3 separate regions of the Homo sapiens genome follow, and regions 2 and 3 are each linked to region 1. Evidence: promoter capture Hi-C in human tissues and cell types (Jung and others, 2019). All regions are on one chromosome and are shown on one strand. The core of a region is centred on a gene start or on the middle of the fragment in contact, and the rest is flanking DNA. Distances in the headings are between cores, read along the strand shown. Region 1 holds the start of AMBP (alpha-1-microglobulin/bikunin precursor). Region 2 has its middle 88 kb from the start of ZNF618. Region 3 has its middle 120 kb from the start of ZNF618.

Region 1 (2,722 bases), core at 179-2,678:
GGGATAATGTCTTACAACTAATCAGAGGCCACACACCTTCAAGGGAGGCCAGATCCCTAAGAGTGGCGTTTCAGGCATCACAGCGAACCCAGGAAGCAGGTGTGCGGCTGGGGTCCCAACCTGCCCTGCAGAAGGGCTAACTCTCTCAAGATGTGGGATCTGTCCATAGCTCCATCAACCACTGCTCCCCAAGAGCTGGAGTCCTGTCTTTTACTCCTCCAATGATGGGGTGCTCCCCACCTTGCAAGGCAGCCCACAGCCCCATGTTAGGAATTATTTCAAAAGTATAATGAACATGATGGGGTCATTCAGGATAGGCCTGCTTCCTCTTCCTCCTGAAAGTGCACGGGACAGCTGAAGGAGCCCTCAGGCTCCTACGGAACAGGCCAATGTGCCCCACACCCTTTGCGTCCCAGACTGCCACAGGGACCTGCTCCTCATTGCCCCTCTGCCACGACCTTTCCTTGTCCCTAAAAGTAAACAAAACCCACATGACACCACAGCTAGAAGGTTCTGAGACCCTTCATACAGACATGGAGACAGCCCCAGGTGGGCAAGGGTATTCTCAAAGCCACCCCGGGATTTAGGGCAGAGTGGGGGCTGGAAGGCAGCTCTGGCACTCCACACTCACAGGAGAGTGTCCTGCCCCAGTCCAGGTCTCTCCTTGTGCCCAAGCCTCTGAATGTCTCCCAACCCTAATCTCTGTCCTGCTTCACCTCTTCCCATAAGCCCCACATGCCCAACCCAAAAGCTGCTGGCCACATGCCCACGCTGTGCCACCCCAGGTGTCTGTCCACAGTCAGGCCAGGATGTGGGCAGGGGACACAGGAAGAGCTAAGGGAAAGATGCCACAGAGAGAGGGGAGTCATTAGAGAAGGAAGGGCTGGGAGGTCTGGGCAAAGCTAGGTGTCTGCACGGGGGCTGCAGGGCAGTGGCAGGCAGGACAAAGCCTTCTCTGGAGCAGGTTCCCATTAACACAAGGGTTCCCCTTGGAGCCCACGAGGACAGTGCAGAAGGTGAGGATGTTTGACTCATAGAATGTCAGCCAAGAGACCCACGGAATGGCAGGGGATAGAGCTGTACCTTCAAAGGATCCCATAATCCCAGATGATCTGAGTGGAAGCCTGAGACCCCGAGACAGGCCGCACTTGCCCAGCAGGGCCCATCTGCCTGGACTCCCCATCACCACATCCACCCTACCACAGAGAGCGGCAGCCTTACCCGAGAGATATTGAAGTTTTCCTGCACTTGGATGTTGTCGGGCGGCGTTGGCACAGGGCCAGCGCTCACCGCCAGGCAGGCGCTCAGCAGCAAGAGCAGGGCCCCGAGGCTCCTCATGGCTATGGGCTCCTCTGCCTTGGTATATCCCACAGGCTCGGTCTAGCAACAGAAGGGCCACCGCCTCCCTGCAACAGGGCAGCTGTGAACTGAGGCTGGGGAAGGGGCCTGTGGCTTGTAGTTGACCTCAGTGTTTGCCCTGCTCAGCTGGGGCCAATTACAGCCCCAAGGACAGCTCCAATCGATCCCTGTAGCCTGGCTGGGGTCAGCAGTACCAAGAGGCCGGGATGGCTGCTTCAGAAGAGGCATTGGCCAAGCACAATAGGGCCCTGGAGCACCAGGATTGGGCTCCGCCCCCCAAAAGTCCCCCACAGAGGGCATGCGAGGATGGGGAGCGACCTGGCCTTTCTGCTGAGTCATGCCATCTGGACCTCACAGCTCTGTGAGCCAGCAGGTCAAGCCTGATTGGGCCCATTTCTCACAGGAAAAAACTGAGGCCCAAGGAGAGGAAGTGACTTGCCAGAGACCTCAGGGAAGTCTATGGGCAGAGCCAAGACCAGAACCCAGGTATCCTGTCTCCAGAGTTCCTTCTCCAGCCCCCAGGCTTGCCCTAGCCTTTGCAAATAATAGAGACATTAACAATGATGACTGTTACGAGCTTCCGTTCACTGAGCACCTGCTATGTGCTGGCTGTGTACCAGGCACTTTACACGTGCCACAGGTGTCCAGTAAATCCCCACAACAAGCTTACGAAGTAGGTGCTATTTGTCCCCTTTACAGGCAGAGGAGTTGAGTCTCCAAGAAGTGAAGTGACTTGCCCAGAATCCCTCAGCCGGGAGTGGAGTAGCTGGGAAAGGCGTGGTAGAGACCATGGACGTGGGAGCCAGGCAGCCTACAGTGGCACTCACTGCTGTGTGACCTTGGGCAAGTCACTTTACCTTTCAGTGCCTTGGTTTCCTCATCTGTAAATGGGGATAATAATAGTTCCTAGCTCCTAGCATTGTTGAGTGAGCACCTGCAATGCGCTAGGACAGTACCCAGCATAGAGTAAGAGCTGAGTGTTTGTGGTGGGTTGAACAGTGCCCCCTCCAGAATCCATGTGCACCCCGAACCGCAGAATGAACCTGATTTGCAGATGTGATTAGTTAGATGAGGTTGAACTGGATGACAGGGGTTTTAAATCCAATGACCGGTATCTTTATAAGAGAATGGTGAGGGAGACTCAGACACAGGGACACAGAGAGAAGCACGGGGAAGATGTGGCGTGACGCCGAAGGCAGAGATGGGAGGGATGCAGTGACACGTCAAAAATCACCAAGGATTGATGGCAGCCACCAAAAGCTAGCAAAAGGCAAGGAAGGACTTTTCCCCAGAATCTTCAAAGGGAACATGGCTCTGCTGAAAATTTGGTCTCAGGTGTCTGACCTCCAGTGCTGAGAGAAGA
Region 2 (2,720 bases), core at 172-2,671, 290 kb before region 1:
GAGGGGGCCGATGAGGCTGGAGGGCCCTTGTGGTGGAGATGGACCCCTATAAGCCCCTCCAGGTTGGTGGGTCGTTGAGGAAGAAGATGAGCTCCATCAGCCTCTGTCTCTCCACCTGTAGGCTTTTTGCCTTCCTCTGGACATAAAAAGGGAGGTACAGTGGAGAGAGGGCTGAATTGGGGTTTGAAAATGTGGCTTAGAACTGCGAAGTGACCACCCGCATGTCCAGGAGTCTGAGAACCAAGCGGACCTGGGTTTGAATCCCTGCTCCACTCTGCCATCTGCTTCCATATGCACTTGCCCAGAGGGTGCTTGGGAAGCCCAGGATCTGCCCACAGTGAGTGCTCACCTTGATACTAGGTTGCTAGTATTGAGGTGATACTAGTTTCAAGTGCTTACCTCGATACTAGGTTGCTAGTATCGAGATGCTACTAGGTGATACTAGGTTTCGAGTGTTCACCTCCATACTACATTGGAACATATTAAACTGATAGGTGACCAGCTTTAACCTACAAAAGGACCATTTCATATGACTCAACCTATGTAGGCATGGAGTGATGATAATTAGAAGCACTAACATTGAGAGCTTTCTAGATGCTCTAATCTATATGCTTCCAACAAATAACCTTCTTTAAACTTCAGTCCTACAAGGTCTATACCATTATTTTCATCCTCATTTTATAGGTAGGGAAACTGAGGCCCAGAGAGGTCAGGAGCCTGCTGAAGGTCATCTAGTTGACAGAGGGCTGAGCTGGGATATGAACACAGTCTAGCCTAAGAACTCCTGTCAATGATATACCATGATGTCACTTCTGCTTCACCTTCCCTGGGAGGACATTGTCACTGGAAAAGGCTAGAAAAGGCTCTAGATTTCCAGAGTGGATGGCCTATGTGGAGGGTAAATGATATACAAAGGAGATAAACTGCAAAATCTGAGCCCATCAGTGACATGAAATTTGCAAGAACTTGATTTCAGTGAGAATCTAGATAATTTACAGAGACTTCAAAAGTGGGGAATCAGAGTGTCTGGAACTTTTGCATAGGCAGAGGTGTTGGAGGCTCCCAGAAATGTTCTAGAGAGATCTAGAAGCCAGCCACAGCAATCACATCTCTAGAAAAGGCTCTGGATTTTAGGAAAAGATGCCTCTTTGGCTTGCTGAGCACCAGATATGGAAGCCTGCAAGTCTTAGAGGCCAGTACACAGGACCTAGGACAGAGCTGGTCTAAACGCAGAGGTGAGAGGTGGGGCCCGGGAAGCCGGCCTCACTTTCCTTCCTGGGGCCTCAGTTTCCTCTGCTGCTGAGTTGGTGGGTGGCCTCTCTCCACAGTCCCTCTGAGCTGTACCATCCTGTAATCACCATCCTGCAATCTCCATGCATTTGCACAGCCAAGGAGAGCCGGCAGGGGCTCTGGGGCAAGTCAGCTTGGATCCTAATCCGCTCCATCACTGAGCAGCTGTGTGACCTTGGGCAGGTGACCTGACTCCTCGGCACTCATTTCTTTATCTGCCCCAACAGGGGAGCAGTAATTCCTACCTCTAGGCTAGTAGGTTTGGTTAAACAAGAGGATTCTGTAGAGTGCCTAGCTACGAGAGGGGATGACAGAAGTAGCAGCTGCCGTCTCGATGGCCAGGTAGGCCTGGGCAAGGACAGAGGGAAGAGAGGAGAACAGAAACACCAGAATCCCGGGGAGTGTCCCAGGAGAGGAGACAATGGGGTGCTGGCTAGGACCCCAACTCCCTCCTTCCCCAGGGATTCAAATTTCAAAGCTTCACAGGACAGAAAACCACAGCATTCCTACAAGTGCCAGTGGGCTCTGGGCCCTTGCTCAGGAGCAGAAACCTGGGTTTGGAAAAGATTCTCAATTGCCCAGCGATAACCCCAAATAATCTCTCTTGAAACCACATATCATTTTCCTCTTAAAGAAACGCAATCTCTAATTAGAGTTTCCTCTGAACGTTTTCTCTTTGAAAAAAATTAAAAATGTATAAACCCTCCTGTATCGTGTATGTATATTTCATTGCTGCATAATTGGGATCTTTGTCAGTAACTGGGGTAGCAAGCGACAGCCTTTTAATCGGCTACAGATGCTAATGTAGAGAGAGACATTTTCCTCCTCTTTGCTCAACTGTTCCAGCCAGAGACTAGAGTCCTCCCTAATAAGTATTTATGTCAAAATCTTTTTTGGGGAGTGGGGGGAGAGAGAGCAGCTGTAGCATAGTTGAAAGACGTGGCTCTGATTACAGTCGCCAGCCAAAGGGGGGGGATCACTTTTAGAGTGAAACAGTGTTAATCAAGTTAATCACAAAACCCGTGCTATAATTGCTTCTGCTCTCAGACAAAATTTTACTTTTATCTAAATTACTAAAGTGAGGAGAGAGCAATCCGCTCTAATTTAGCTTTTGAGCTAAGGAGAAAGCGTGTGTGGAAGGCTGGAGAGGTTTTTAAACATCAGGAGAACTCATGCCATGGAATTCAGCTCTCCTCCTCCTTCCCTCCCTCCCTCACTACCTCCTCCCACCCTCCCTTCCTTCCTTTGAGACAGCTTAGTCCGATGGTTGAAAACTTGGACTCCTGGATCTGCCACTTAAGGCTGCGTTAACAAGTTCCTTGGTCTCTCAGTGTCCTCAGTTTCTTCATCAGTGAAATGGGGATGATCTGCCTCAAGATTGTGAGGCAGATTAAACAAATTGACGAGGATGACATACTTGGCGTGTGCTT
Region 3 (2,780 bases), core at 45-2,544, 320 kb before region 1:
TACTTTTCCTGGCACTGCCTTAGCTACCAGGTCCTCCAGGAAACGTTCACACTGGGGACCTGACTAATTGGCAAATCAGTGAAGAATACACTTCATCTCCTGGGAAGTGATGTAAGACATTGGAGAAGGGGAAGAACTAATATCGTCTGGTACTGAGGGTAAAAGAGAAGGGAAAGATAGTGGCGTTGAAAGGGAAGATGACTCCAGTGGCATCCTCCCCTTTTCCCTCAGAAGGCACCTGGAGATTGTCACAAGAGTCCTTAGATTCCAACTACTGCTGCAGCTTCTAGGGATTACAATTTGATATGAGATTTGGGTGGGGACACTGATCCAAACCATATCAGTCATGTTAATAGTATGTACCCTTAATGTGATGTGATGAAAATGTCACTTTGACTCTGTGCTTTTCTTCCCCCAAGCTTTATTCTAATTGTGAGGGGGAAAGTTATATAAATCCTAATTGAGAGACATTCCATAAAATACCTGACTAGTACTCAACACTGTCGAGGCCAAAAAAAAAAAAAAAAAAAAAGAAAAAAACAAGGAAAGTTTTAGAAATCATCAAAGCCCAGAGGAACCTAAGGAGACATGGTAAATAAATGTAATGTGGGATTCTGGATGAGATCCTGGAACAGAAGAAGATAAAAACCAAAGAAATCTGAACAAAGTAGGGACTTCAGTTTAAAGTAATGTATCAAATTGGTTCATTAATTCTAACAAATGTATCATAATATATAAAATAATAGGGAACACTGGGTATGGAGTATATGGCAACTCTCAGTGTTATCATCACAATTTTTCTACAAGCCTAAAACTATTTGAAAAGCTAAATTTTATTTAAAAAAATTGAACACAGCTTCAGGGACCTAGGGCACCAGAGCATAAGGTCTAACATATGTATAATTTGAGTCTCAGAAACAGAAGAAAGAGAGAATAAGGCAAAACAAAAATTGAAGAAATAATGGCTGAAATTTTCAAAAATTTGGTGAAAGATATAAATTTACAGATTTAAAAATCTCAGTGTATTCTAATTATGAATATGAAGAAAAGCACATCTATGCATAGCATAGTAAAACTGCTGAAAATGTATATATGTATTGGCAGGTGGCAATTTATTACTTTAATGTTTATATAGAAAATAAGAAATACTAAAAATAATAAAAAGCAAGTAAAGGAGGAAATAATCCAAGCACAAAAATTAATAAAATTGAGAAGAAATATATAATAAAGATTGAAGAGACTAAGAAAACCTCTGGCAACCGATGAAGTAAGGAAAGGGAAGACACAAATATGAAATATTATAAATATAAAAGAACGATAGCCACAGATGTAACAGACAGTACCACAAATAACTTTATGCAAAGAAAATTGAGTGCTTAAATGCAATGGACAACTTCCTATTAAAGTGTTATTTATTATCATTGAATCAAGAAGAATAGAAAACTTGAGTAGTTTATTCCATCTGAAGAAAGGGGATCAGTAGTTTAAAATATATTTACCTTCAAAACACCCATCCTACACAATTTAAGCAATGAGTTCTAACAGTCTGTCAAGTAACAAACAATTTCAACCTTCCACAAACTCTTCCAGAAGCTAATAGATTAAGAAACGCTCATCAATTCATTTTATGAAGGTACTAAGTCCTTGATGCAAAATAGACATGCACACCATGAGGAATGTAAGTTACACACCATTCTCATTCATTAATATAGATGCAGAAACAAAAATATTTGCAAACCATATGTGTATATGTATATAAATGCATATAATCATTATTAAATTGGTTATATCTCGGGAATCCAAAGATGGTTCACATTAAAGGAGAAAAACTCATGGTCATCAGCACATGCAGAAATCATTTGAAAACATCTAACGGTCATTTGTATTTAAAAAAAATTGGGAAAGAAGAAACAGAATTTTCTTAACTTGATAAAGGGATAAAAAACATACAAAAATATACAGCAAACATTATATTTAATAGGAAAATGTTAGAAGCAATTGATTTAAATTCAGGAAAAGGCAAGGGATCCAACAGCACAGCTTCCATTCAGCATTGTACTGAAGACTCTAACCGAACCTCTAAGACAGGCAAAAAAAAGGTAAAAGGTTTGGAAAGGATGAAAAATAAAATTTGTGGAGTAAATTATTATAGATTAAGACAACATAAGAGACTCTTCAAATATTATAATTAACAAATTTTGCAAGGTTTCTGGATATAGAGGTCAAAACTTTAAAATCATTCACTTTCTGTGCACCAGTCACAGATACTAGAAAATGAAATTTTAAAGGTTTGTGATATCTTAAGGGACATAAGAAGCATAAGAATAAATCTAACCAAATATGAGCATAGGATTTGTGAAGAAATGTTTAATCCTTTATTGAAAAAAGTTAGAGATAAGTCTAAATAAAGGGAGATATATACCATGTACATAGATAAGAAGACTCAATATTATAATATTGTAAATACTCTATAAATTAATTCATAAATTTAATGTACTTCCAATTAAAAGCTTTATAGTATTTTGTGGAGCTTGACACATTGATTCTAAAAATTTATAGCAAAAATCAAAGAGCCATGATAAGATGAGTTTAAAGAAGAGCAAGTTTGAAGGGATTTGTTCTGGTAGGTATCCAGTCTTCTTACATGGCTACAGTAATTAAGAGTGTATTTTCTGGCAGGTATGAATAAATTAGTGAACAAAATTGAGAACTCAGAAACAGACCAATGCTTACACGAAAACTTACTATGTAACAGAGTTGACAGTGCAGGTCAGCAGGGA

What was found. Contacts are between HindIII fragments. The study calls those that stand out against the background at their distance.
Region 2: a contact is called between a fragment that was not itself captured here and the fragment with the promoter of AMBP in region 1, in 1 of the 25 tissues and cell types used here (IMR-90 fibroblasts).
Region 3: a fragment that was not itself captured here is called in contact with the fragment with the promoter of AMBP in region 1 in 4 of the 25 tissues and cell types used here (H1 embryonic stem cells, IMR-90 fibroblasts, aorta and 1 more).

What each region holds. Positions count from the first base shown.
Region 1 is chr9:114,076,872-114,079,593 of GRCh38, forward strand. AMBP (alpha-1-microglobulin/bikunin precursor) reads right to left here and starts at 1,429. Exons shown (of 10, transcript NM_001633.4): 1 at 1,222-1,429. The coding sequence starts at 1,338. The HindIII fragment of the contact is 16,108 bases long and covers 1-2,722 here.
Region 2 is chr9:113,786,637-113,789,356 of GRCh38, forward strand. No RefSeq gene overlaps it. Among named protein-coding and RNA genes, the nearest start is that of ZNF618, 88 kb to the right of the region's middle. The HindIII fragment of the contact is 3,025 bases long and covers 1-2,720 here.
Region 3 is chr9:113,759,207-113,761,986 of GRCh38, forward strand. It overlaps the pseudogene C14orf119P1. Among named protein-coding and RNA genes, the nearest start is that of ZNF618, 120 kb to the right of the region's middle. The HindIII fragment of the contact is 4,172 bases long and covers 1-2,780 here.